Linked DNA regions of Homo sapiens: region 1 is linked to region 2. Evidence: promoter capture Hi-C in human tissues and cell types (Jung and others, 2019). All regions are on one chromosome and are shown on one strand. The core of a region is centred on a gene start or on the middle of the fragment in contact, and the rest is flanking DNA. Distances in the headings are between cores, read along the strand shown. Region 1 holds the start of YTHDF1 (YTH N6-methyladenosine RNA binding protein F1). Region 2 holds the start of SLC17A9 (solute carrier family 17 member 9).

The links. The method cuts DNA at HindIII sites, captures the fragments that hold promoters and counts their contacts. A contact is called where the count stands out against the background at its distance.
Region 1: the fragment with the promoter of YTHDF1 here is called in contact with the fragment with the promoter of SLC17A9 in region 2 in 1 of the 25 tissues and cell types used here (dorsolateral prefrontal cortex).

Annotation. Positions count from the first base shown.
Region 1 is chr20:63,214,379-63,220,255 of GRCh38, reverse strand. It overlaps YTHDF1 (YTH N6-methyladenosine RNA binding protein F1), which reads left to right and starts at 4,125. Exons shown (of 5, transcript NM_017798.4): 1 at 4,125-4,390; 2 at 4,655-4,679. The coding sequence starts at 4,364. RefSeq lists silencers at 3,773-4,052, 4,183-4,252. The HindIII fragment of the contact is 8,217 bases long and covers 1-5,877 here.
Region 2 is chr20:62,947,936-62,954,029 of GRCh38, reverse strand. It overlaps SLC17A9 (solute carrier family 17 member 9), which reads right to left and starts at 1,321. Exons shown (of 13, transcript NM_022082.4): 1 at 1,141-1,321. The coding sequence starts at 1,199. GID8 (GID complex subunit 8 homolog) reads right to left here. Exons shown (of 5, transcript NM_017896.3): 5 at 5,555-6,094. RefSeq lists silencers at 1,101-1,200, 1,211-1,530 and an enhancer at 1,082-1,911. The HindIII fragment of the contact is 20,012 bases long and covers 1-6,094 here.

The sequences.
Region 1 (5,877 bases), core at 2,876-5,375, 260 kb before region 2:
CACTCCACACACTCCACGTCAGCACACTCCATGTCAGTGCACTCCCAAGGCACAGGGAGGCAGGAGGAACCAAGAGAGCAGGAGCCAGTTTCATCAAGGACAAAGCAGCCCCGCCAGGGAGTACGGTGGGGAGCGGTTTTGGAAGGAGGCCTGCCGACTGGGGATGAGCCCGGGGTTGAGGTGAGGGAGGAGATGAGGACCTGAGACAGCATTCGTGGAGAGGGCAGCTGCGTGAGTGGCTGGTGTCCATCGAGACAGATGGGTATCTTCACTGAGAGCCCCCAGAGGCCAGCTGCAGGGTGAGCTGTGTCCAGCACTCAGGAGGGGTTTGGTTCAGCCAGGGATCATCTGAATTCAGGGCCCACAGCGTTTGGACCCTGCACCCAGCTCAGAAACCTCCTCTTGGCTGGGGGTTTTGGTACAGCCTCCTTGGGGGCCATCTGGCAACATCAGCACAATGGCCAGTGTAAGCGCCTTTGGCCCAGTGATTCCATGGGCAGGAGCCTCCTGCCAGGTGTCTTCGCACACGTGTGCATGTGTGTTGGGGCCAGGACACTCACTGGATGAGGCTGGAGCCCATGCCCTCCCTGGAGAGGGACGAGGTGGGTGGACGGCGGGTGTTGATACTCAGCAGCACTGTGGATCCCCAAAGTGCGGTTTCCCAACACGTGAGATGCAAGGGCAGATAGTGGAGACAGAGACTCATGCTTGCATGCACAGGCAGGCATCTGGAGGGCTCCCTCTCTGAGGGGTTTGGGGGTGGTGGTTTTTGCTTCCCACCTTATATCCTTTGAGTGCAAAGATAGCTTTTTAACCATGCGCCTGTGTGACTTTCAAATAAATAAAAACCCAAACCTTCCTAATGCTAGTCATGTTTAGACAATCCCATACCACTTGAGGGTGCTGCCAGGAGCGGGTACTGCTAGGAAGGGCTCTTGGATGAGCAACAGGTTCCCCGAGCAAGAAGGTTCCCGTCTGAAGGCAGACGGCCCACAGGGGATGGGCTCTTGTCTGTCATTGACGGCACAGGCTTAGAAATGGCAGGCTTTGTCTCAAGACCGCTGGGCCACCCAGAGGAGTGGCCAAAGCCCTCTGATCCGTTTCCATCCATGACATGAGGAGCTGCCTGCTCCCTGTGAGGGAGAGACAGTTGTCCCCTGACATTCGGTGCTGGGTGACCTCCCTTTTCCTGGCCGAGAGCTGGGCTGGGGTGTGAACCTGGGCAGGCTGGGCAGTGGACGTGGCCCTCCAAGGTTACAGGCAGCTCAACTCCTGGTTTTCTGTGACACCCTCCCAGGTCCTCAGGCCTGGCCAAGATAAAGGCTTTCCCCCCAGAGCTGGCCTGGGGACCTCAGCACCCCCTGCTGGTGCCACACCCCCTGCATTCAATTCACTTTAGGGCCCCCTGTTCCCGCCAACCAGACCTGTCCTGCCCCTGGGCAGCCCCCAGTCTCCTTCCATGTCAGGGTCAGCATGGAGCCTTCTGGAGTTCACAGCAAAAGCCTGGGTGGGTCCGGGCAGTGGCTGTGGGATCCTGCCAGCCTCTTCCCTGGCCAGTGGGGCTAGGCTGGCATGGTGGTGCCTCCTCAGGCCTCACTGTGGGGGCCTCTCCTTCCATCTACATTTGTGAGTAGAACCTACTCAGCCCCAGGAGTCACCCTCCAAAATCTCTCCATAGGCATCACTGTGAGGCCTCCCCAGTGATCTCTGTAGTGAGCTGAAGAGTGTACCCCCAAAACTCATGTCCACCTGGTACCTGCGTGACTTTATTTAGAAATAGGTTCTTTGCAGATATAATCACAAGACGATGAGGTTATCCTGGATTAGGGTGGGCTCTAAATCCAGATGAGTGTCCTTATAAGAAGAGACACAGGCACAGAGGAAAAGGCCATGAGGTGACGGAGGCGAGGAGGAAAGACCAGGAAGGGCTGCGGCCTCCACCGGAGGCTGGAGGAGGCTAGGATCCTCCCCGAGGGCCCTGGAAGGAGCTTCTGTCTCCACTTCAGCCCAGCAATACTGATCTGAGACTTCTGGCCTCCAGAACTGGGAGAGAATAAATTGCCGTTATTTTAAGCCCCCCAGTTCCGGGTACTTTGTTGAGATAGCTCCAGGAAACTGAAACACCTCCAGGGTCCTGCATTGCCGGCACTCAGCCATCTAAGAAGGCCCCTAAGCTCGGAGTGGCCACTTCCCGCAGGGCCAGTGCTGCCTCCTGTGACTGGCTGGGCATTTGTGGGTGAAGGCAGCAGGTAACAGCCAGTGTTGACAGAGCCCTGGCCTGACGCCAAGGGCTGCATACCCAGTTTCTTCCACACACTCATCCTGTGAAAGGGGAGTAATTAACCCACCACGGAGGAGGAAAGTAGGCCTGAGGCTGAAGGCCCTGTAACTGGCTGTGAGGCTCTGAACTCCAGTGGTGACCACTGCACCGTCCTGGCCCAGGGATGGGAGCTGGGTGAGAAGACAGACAGGGGCTCCAAGAGTCCGAGTGTCTACTCTGACCACCCAGACACCCCCTTGCTGCAGTCTTGGCCGCCAAACAGTTCAGTGTCCTGGGAAGCAGGCACTCAGGGCCTGCCCAGGATGCGCAGGCCTTATCACACAGAAGCAGGTGGCAGGGTGCCCCCAGGGACCCCACTGTCCCTACAATCCCCACACATCTTCTCCATGTGGGCCACCATCCTGGAAACGTGCTGTTCATTTTCGGATGTACCCCAAATGCACAGATTTCATCCTGGCCTGAGATGTCTGCCCATGGCCCAAACACATCAAAGTCCCAGGGGATCCAGATTCATCCTCAGGGCACCAGACATCCCCCAGCTCTGTTCCAGGGAAACAAGCCCAGCCCGCTTTCCCCAGCTTTAGGCGAGGCAGGGCTCCAGGGAGACCTGGAGCAACTTGGAGCAGCAGTCCTCTCTGTGGCTGACCGGCCTGCTGGGGGCAGTTTCCACCTCCTCCTGCAGCAGTGTGAGAGGCTGTCTGCTACCCCACTGATGCGGATGTCCAGGCTTGGAGCCGTCTTGGGACTCCATTGCCGTCCCTGCTGTCACTGTTCACCCTGCTTAGCGCATCTGCCCGGGCCCACTTTGTGGAAAACACTCATTTGACGTCAACCTGCCTGACACCCCATTCCAGGTCTTTCTCCTTTAGCAGGACCCAGATCCAGGCCACGTGAAGATGTTACAGCTGCCAGAGCTGGAAAGAAAAATATCAACCTGGAAGCCTCTGTAGGGAGTTAGCCACAAGGGTGGCAGGATTGGATACTGGCTGCAGGGAGCGAAATTCAACACCTTGACCAGAAGGGCGTCCAGGTTGGGGATGCTGAGGGGTTAGGAACTGAGAACTGGGCTCTCTTTGCACAGTTGCTGCTAAGAAGGGGCTGTCCATCCTCGAACAAAGATGACAAGTCCCCTGGCCCGGCCTAGGCTGGGGCACAGAGCACTGCTTTTCCTCCTGGTGATGAAATCGGGGTCAAGAATCTAACATGAGAACTTGGTTATAAGCCGGCGAGCCTCTCGCAGGTCCAGGGGTGCATCCACACAACAGCTGACCTCCGGGACCGGGCCCAGGGCTCCGCTGCGGCTGAAGGCCAGGGCCGCAAAGCGAACAAAGCCCGCAGGTCCCGCGGCAAGGGCCGAGGCGCGCGACCTGGAACACGCGGGGGCTCGGAGCTCTGGGCGGGCAGGTGTTTGCGCGCGGGGGAAGGGCAGACCGACCCCGGACAGACCCGTAGCCCAGCTGTCGGACCAGAACAGCGTTTAGTCTTCGGACCTTGGGGAAAACTACAGAGGCCTCAGTGCCGGTAGCGCGTCGGGGGTGCGGCTGTGGCCGGGGTGTGTGTGGGCGGCTGTACACCTGGCAGCAGCCCGCCAGCCCCTTCCCGCCAGGCCCCGCGGCGCCTCCGGACACGCCCCACGTGACTTCCCCGGCTCAGGGCTTCCCCGCCCAGCCGGCTGCGGTCCCCGCCCCGCCGCACGAGACTGGGACCTGAGAGCGAAATCCATCCCGTAAGACGGGAGCGCGCAGGCGCGAAGTGTGGCGGCCCGGCGCGGCGCTCCCGGCCTGCCCCGCGTGCACGCTGACGCCGCGCAGTCTCGTCCCCTGCCGCCGCCGTCGCCGCTGCTGTCGCCGCCGCCGCCGCCATTGGAGTCGACGCCTCCTCAGTGCGTCCGCGTCCCGGGCTCACCGCCGCTGCCGCCTCGCCAGGGGCCCGCGCGCCCAGCAGCCGCCGCCGCCGCCCGGCCGGCGCCCGGGGAATTGGCGGCGGGGCCCGGGGCCGCGCGAGCTAGGGTGACAGGCCCGGCCTCTAGGGGAGGCCCGAGCCGGCGGGCGCCCCGGCCCCGCGTCTAGTTGTTCATGAAGCATGTCGGCCACCAGCGTGGACACCCAGGTAGCGGGGCCGGGTTACAGGGGCCGCGGCCGGGGCCGAGGCGCGGGGTCTGGGTTGAGGTCCTGGGGCTGGAACGCAGAGCCCGGGGTCGCGGAGGCCGGGCCCAGGCGGGACCGGGGTCTCGGGGCCGGGGTCGCACGTGACCGCGCGTCGGGGCCGGCGGAGCTCGCGGCCCGTTGGAGACCAGTTCTCTGGTGAATAACTTTGTGTTTCCCTCTTCCCCCGGGTTGTGTGTACCCCACGTCCCGGCCTGCGGCGGTGCAGAGAACAAAAGGACAAGATAATAAAGGTGAGCGGAGTCCCGGGACGGCCGGCGCGGGCTGGAGTGGAGGAGGACGGGGAAGGAACGGTCCAGGAAGCTGCGTCTGGAACCGGAAACTTTCTCTCTTCCGCCAGCTTCAGGGAGATAAAACTTGAGGTTGTGCGACGATTCTGGGAGATTTGACAGGTCGAAGACAGGGGCTTCTCAAGAAGTGAATAAATGATTGCTCAGAGTAGTTTGGGCCCGTCTCTCCCCACCGCATGATCATGGATTTGCTTTGGGGAAGGGGAGGTAGGAGAGCCGGGTGGACATGGCCGCAGGGGTTGAGCGACTTGCCTTTTTCCGCCCAGCAGGGGCTGCTCTAGGAGAGGGGCAGTCCAAGGTTCTGCAGGCTAAGCTCCACATCCCCGGTAGTTGCAGCCCGTTTTCCAAGTCTGTTAGCATCTCCTGTGACATTATGGCTTGGGATAAACCCTCAGAGCGCACTCATGTGAAAACTGTTAAGTGACACTTCACGTTTACTTGGAACACTTTTTTAGCCAGTTTGTGTGTCAGCTCAGGTGTAACCAAATACGGTTCATCGTGTTTTAAGATTGGAAAAGGCCCAGCACTTTATTTACCTTTGCTTGCTTTTTCTGGCTGAGCATAATAACAGTGGGAAGGTAAGTGGTGTAAAAGGAAAACCAGTCTTGGGGCACCCAAATCACTGAGCCAAAGGGAGAAAGCTACGCTGAGAACTGCTGAGGGCAAACCTGCCTCCCATTCTATTCCTGAAAAAGATAGCTTCTAAGACAAAAAAAGTTACATACTTCCCCCACAGTTTGCCCACAAGGAAATTCCTGGTGGACAAAGGACAGAACTCAGAGTCATTCCTGCTCACTGAGATAAATGCTTATCTGATTGCTTCCTTTGGAAAGGCTAATCAGAAACTCGAAAGAATGCAGCCGTTTGTCTCTTATCTACCTATGACCTGGAAGCCCCCTCCCTGCTTCAAGTTGTCCCGCCTCTCCGGACCAAACCAATGTACATCTTACATTGATGGTTCTCATGTCTCCCTAAAATGTATAAAACTAAGCTGTCCCCCGACTACCTTGGGCACATGTTGTCAAGACCTCCTGAGGTTGTATCATGGGTGTGTCCTTAACCTTGGCAAAATAAATTTTCTAAATTAACTGAGACCTGTCTCAGATATTTGGGGTTCACTGTGGAGAGTCAGATAATAGCT
Region 2 (6,094 bases), core at 72-2,571:
AGGCGGAGCCACTCAAACCAGCCGCCAGTGAGGAGGCCCTGAATCCCTGGGGAGCTGGCCCTGCCCGGCAGGCCTGGATGAACGTGGGTGGGGGAAGAGGAAGAGAGCAAGGGGCAGGGCCCGCTGAGGGCAGCCCTCCCCTCTAATTGGCGCCTGACAGGGCTGTGATCTGGGCTGCCAGCTTTTCCCATGCAGCCAGCGCTCCCTTCATCTGGGTGCCAACATCCGATGGTGGCACTGCCCCTTTGGGCCTTCCTACAACTCTTCCCAGCACTTCTAGGGTCCTCAGCCCTCATACAGCTGGGAACTGGTGGGGCCAGAAGGTGCCATTACCTTGCCATGGTCAGGGTAGGTACCCTGGGGACTCAGTGCAGGCAGGAGACTGCTCTGGAACCCACAGGGCCTGAGTCTAGGCCCAGGGTCCAGCCACTTAAGGCCTCAGCCCAAGACCCAGAGCCAAGGGGTTCAGCAGTGTGGGGGCTGCTCTCAGGAGCTCCCTGGCAGAGGCCCTCCCCAGCTGACCAATGGCCCGCGGTCACCATCTCGCCCGGTTTCTGAGGCGTCACCTGCCCAGGGAGCCTCCTACAGGCAGCAGTGCTGGTGGCCAGGCGACCTGCCCAGGCCCTGCTTCTCCCCACCACCAAATGCTCCGAGAGCTGAAGCCAGCGGGGAGCTCGTCCTCAGCACACAGCTGGCACGTGGTGGCAGGACCCCCCCCAACCCCGTCCAGCTGCAGGCTCCAGCCCGTGCCCCCTACCTGGCCTCCTGACTGTCCTGGCGCCTGCTTGTCAGGGTCATGCATACACAGGGTGGTTCCACCTGGCGAGGGGTATGCCTCCTGACTGTCCAGGACAATGCCCCTGGCCTGGGGAACATAGCCCTGCCTGGAAGAGCCCCAGGAACACTGGCTGGGATAGGGCACTTGCCAGGTCCGGTCCTGGAATCTCATGGCAGGGAGGAAGGACAGGGCACTCACTTCCTTCCACCTCCCACAAGGAACACAGGGGGCCCCACAGCCAGAGGAGCCCGCCCAGCTCAGCCCTCCCCACCTAGCATCGTCCCACGTGGCAGTATCTCAGCTCCCTCCCCACGGCCCCATCTCCACCGCTCCCACCCCCCCTCCCCTCACCCCCGCCACACCTGGACCACTGGGTGTCCCCGGCCATGTCCCTGCGGGCCTCGTCTGGGGGTGGCTGCATCGGGCTTGGGGTGCTCAGACGGCGTGGGCACAGCTGTGTCCCGGGGCTGCCTCCCAGCCCAGGCTGACCCACCCGGGCAGCACCGCCCAAGTCCACGTGTCAGTCCCAGCGCGCTTCCGTCTGGTTCTCTCAGGACTTGTCGCCCCCAGACGGCCACCAGGGCGGGCAGGCGGGGCAGGGCGGGGCATACCACTCGGGTGCCCGCCCCACCCTGCTGACGTCGGTCCCTGCTGCCCCATAGGAGCGGGGCCAACGGTCGCCCTGGCTGGGTCGCCCTGACTGTCCGACGCGCCCTGGCTCAGCCCCAGCAGAGGTTAGTGTGGGGGCAGAGGGGGATTCCCAGCAGCAGGCCGGTCAGACTGGGGCTTCAGAGAAGGGCCCTGGTGGTAAGCCTGGTCCAAGAGGTGCCAGCCCATCCCTTGGACACGACACGGAGCCATGGGGCCGTCTGTCCTCTGTCTATAAAATGGGGAATGATGGCAGTCCCTGCCTTACCGATCAAATAAAATCAGGGATAAAGTCTTAACCAAGTGCAAAGAGAGTAAAAGTACAGGGTCACTGATTTTTAAAATGGATCTTTCGGGGCAGGGATGGGTCCACTCCTGAGCCCTTGGACCAAGCCTGGGAGAGCTGGACAAATCCAGCGCTGGCCCATGTCTTCTCAGCAGATGCCTGTGAAGGTTGTCATTGGCCCCTGGGTTCCTGGACAAAAGGTGTCCTGAGGACCCATCACAGGCCAGGTTCTGGGCTCGGGGGCAGGGGTGACGGGGTGGGGCCCCCACTCTGTGTGCTCCTGCTGCCATGCCAAGGATGAAGCCAGCAGGGGAAGGCCTCAACCATGCAGCCTTTCCCCAGGAGGCGGCAGGGCCTGCTCCTCAGGCGTTGCCCCCACCTCCACTAGGGCCCACCTCAGTCCATCCTCCACGCAGCAGCCACCACCCAGGGGCCGAGGGAGACACGTCTAAGGCAGGGCCTTGCACTTAGAACAGACCCACATTTACCCCCTCCCTCCCCCTAGCCCTCAGGTCTCCAACAGCCCAACCCACTGCACTGCAGGGCCTGCTCCCAGGGCCCTCTGAACAGAAAGACACGGGCACCCTGAAAAGCAAGGTCATACTTTCATCCATCCTGACGTAGGGTAGGTGAAAAGATGGTGGCAGAGAGAGGTTTATTGCCCCAAACAGCCCTAGCCCATAGCCAGGAAGTTTGGAAACTGTTGCTAAACGTATCGCTGTCAACAGCACCCTCTTTGAGGTGATTCGCTTCCATTCACTCTGTGATGGTGATTTCCTACCGAGATCTGTGATCATGCTGCAGCAGACATTTGCCATCTGGTTACCCAAAGTCCCCTTCCTCCTGGAGCTGATGTTCTGGGGCAGGTAGACAAAAATCAAAGTAGTGAAAGGGGTAGGGAAGGGGTGTTACTTCAAATAGGTTGGGCTGAGGAGGCACCCCTGGACACCTGAGTGAAGGCTGGATGAGCTGAAGAAACGGGCCATGCAGGGATGGCTGGGTGGGTGAAGGGGCCATCTCACAGGGACATTATAAAGCTGGGTGCTGGTAGTGGCCAGATGGAGGCTCTCCACGCTTCTGGTGGATTCTGAGAGCTGCCCCGCACCCAAGCATCTTTGAGGCCTAAGGTGAAAAATTATGTAGGGACAATAGACAGTCAACACCTGGGTTTTCAAGGACACAGGGTGACCTTGCGGACAGGGCAGTCACAGCCAGCACCCACTGGCCTCTGCTTCTGGAAGGCTGCGTGCCTCCCTCTTGTTGGGCCTGGCCCACCTAACTTCTTGTTTATTTCAAGTGCTGCTATAGGGAGACGATGCTAGAGATTTTCCTAAAGCAAATCCACACCTCACTACGTATGGCGCCCGTTGCTCAGCCTCTGCATCCACACCCCCCACAGACGCCCCAGGAGACCCCGCACAGCTTCTTGTAAACCAAGACAAGCCAGCCCTGGGCCTGGGGCTCCTCCCTGCACCCCACTTAGCCCTGCAACCTTCCAGCCCAACTACAATTCTCAAGATGAGGAGTCCATGAAAAGGAGACTGACAGATGACACTTTCCTCTGCCATGACTGACAGGCAGCAGCAAGAGGGAAGACCGCGGTACTGGACATCACGTGCGGGAACTGCCTCAAAGGTGGGGGCACCTTTCGGGCTGAGCTAACCCAGTCAACAGCAGACTGGAAAAAGACAAAGAACTGTGTGAGATGGTGCTCAAAACCAGAAAGATGAACTCTGCAATGACGACAAATGGATTCGGTGTGATGTGGGCGTGATACAGAGAAACATTCTTGAAGGTTCTGGAGCAGTTCATTTTTCTCAGAGCTGGTAAACTCATTGTTCGAATCTTACAAGCACTAGTGTTCAACATTTCTAAAACTGGGAGGGCCCAGTGAGGACTGGATGGGCACACAAATCTATAAACGAGCACAGACGAACCCTGGGCTGCTGTGACCGCCAGCACCTCTTCCCGTTCTTCCATGACCCTCCATGGCAGAGAATTCTTGGTGACGGGTCAGCCTGCTTCACTTTCAAAGCCAGCTGGGAAAATTACCAAAGCTGTCAGTCACACACCGTGATCCACAAGAGGGAGAAAACCTTGTTTGTGTGAGGAACGCCTACAGATGTGTCTCCAGGAAGCAGAAGTCACAGCCAGGCGGAGACCTTGCCTGACACGGGCAGCTCAAGGCAACAGCAGCTCCACCGCTTCTCCCTGGTTCCCAAGCTCATCAATTCCACCTCAAATACACAGAGACCCAAGGACAGGAGGCGCTGCTGCACCCAGCACTCTTCATCTCCGAAGTGAGCCTGCGGGGTGACCAACTGCCTTGCATGGACGGACAGCTGGCGGAAGAGCCTGCAACGTGACCTGCATTTACAAACATGAGGAAACCCACTCACCTTCAGTTGTTACTCCTTTCATGAATTCTTTTGGTTATAGCTGTGCCTATGGCTTTACGGGCTTCACCTGATAAATGGTCTTCTGTACTATGGACAATTTGGACCCGTAAACCTGGCCTTGAACTAGGTGACACTGAAATGTTACAGACAAATCAGAACGTCACATTCCCTTTAAATATTCCCCGCACACATGCACCAGGCTGACTGGTGGATACTGGGGTGTGAAATGAGAGAAACAGCCCCCACTGTGCAGATGTGGGGACATGATTATTATCAATTAACCACAGGCTGCACCTCAGCTCCTGCACACCAGGTGCCTTGTGCCGGTGGCTCTGTAGCATGGGCCTGTTTATCTTCAAAGCCATTTTGTGGCTTCTGGAAAAGGCAAACAAGCTCAGGACATTGTATCTCCAAAGAGCACATCTCTTAAAAGATTCTTGCCATAGCTAGTTACACCAAAGGCCCATTCAAACCCCATGTTCTACTTTAACAGAAGTGAAAAACCACAAGCAAAGATGGCATTCCAAAATAAGGCAGAATATCTAAGACAGGAAGGCCATGTGTGCAAGGATGGTGTGAGCCTCCAGACTGTAGTGTGGGAGCTCACACTGAAGCATTCCTGGTGATGCCCACCTCCACTAAGAACTACCGTGCTGCCTTCTGACCCGTGAGGCTAATGGACTGGCACAGGTGTGTGAACATCAAGAACACTGTGACATGCCACTGCCACATAGGGAGGAGCAGCAGGTGAGGAGAGGCCTTCCCTGTTCTCTGATACCCAACAAACATGCAAGCTCTCAACGCCTCGCTCCATGATGCCCGCTGCTCAGCTTCTCTGCATGGGCAGTTTCTGAATTTCACCTCAGGCCCTTGAAGGGGTCAGTCTGAGTCCTTTCCAAGAACCCTACAACTGCCTTCCACTCATGAAGACGCTCATGGCCCTGAAAGCATGGTAGCCACCCAGAATCAGACACCTGTAGTTATCTCCTGCCTGGGGCTCTGGCAGGTGGTGGTGGGTGTCAGGCTGACTGGTGGATACTGGGATGTGCTGGCGTATTCCCTCTGTTTTTAATATGTTTGGAAAATTTCATTAAGCAAAAAAAAAAAAAAAAAAAGAGTAATTACTTAGGCTATTAAAATCAGTTTAAAATCATGCAGTGGGTAGCTCAAAAGTTCTACTTCCTTCACACCAAGGAAATTAGTTTATGAAACATTAAGTGCCCCAGTCAAGAGAGCAGCCGATAGGTTTCAAATTAAACACACCAAGTACAGATTTACAAACTAAAAGGGGCAGCACTGTCAGAGTGAGAGGAGAGCCAACTACAGTTCCAAGAGGCGAGCTTTCTTCTGTCCTTCCATTCCAAGATATCAACTTTCAATACAAATGCATCAGTATTTGTTATTAAAATACCCTTAGGAAAAAAGAGAGCTTCCAGATAACAGTTCTGAGAAAAATGTGAAAACTTTTACTGTTACATTAAGAACAGGTGGTAGAAGCAACCTATTCCGCACTTCTCAAAAGATACAGAGGGGCACATATGCCACACTGGAATAAAGAATACAGAATCAAACATGTACAAAGGTACCACAGCAGGTTATGGTTCATACAGGACTTTAAATGACCCATGTTGACAATACAATTTGCAAAAAATATGAGAAAAGCAATACATATTTCTGAAACAAAAACATACCTGTTGTAAAAAACAACACGCGTAGTATCAGAATAGAACAGTTAACAGAGCAGCAGTTACTGAAGACAGACGGCAACAGGCAGCTGCGCCAGCCATGGGTCTGCCATGCGGCTACACCCATGAGGCCCTATTGTGAACAACGCAACGTTCTCCATCAGCGGGGAAGCACACAGACTGCTTGGCCACCAAGCTTTCCGCCTGGTCTGTTCATACTGAGATTTAGCAGTAACAGCCCAGAAGGGAATGCAGCTCCCCGCTCCCTATGACATCAATGTCTTCAACACATGTGTAA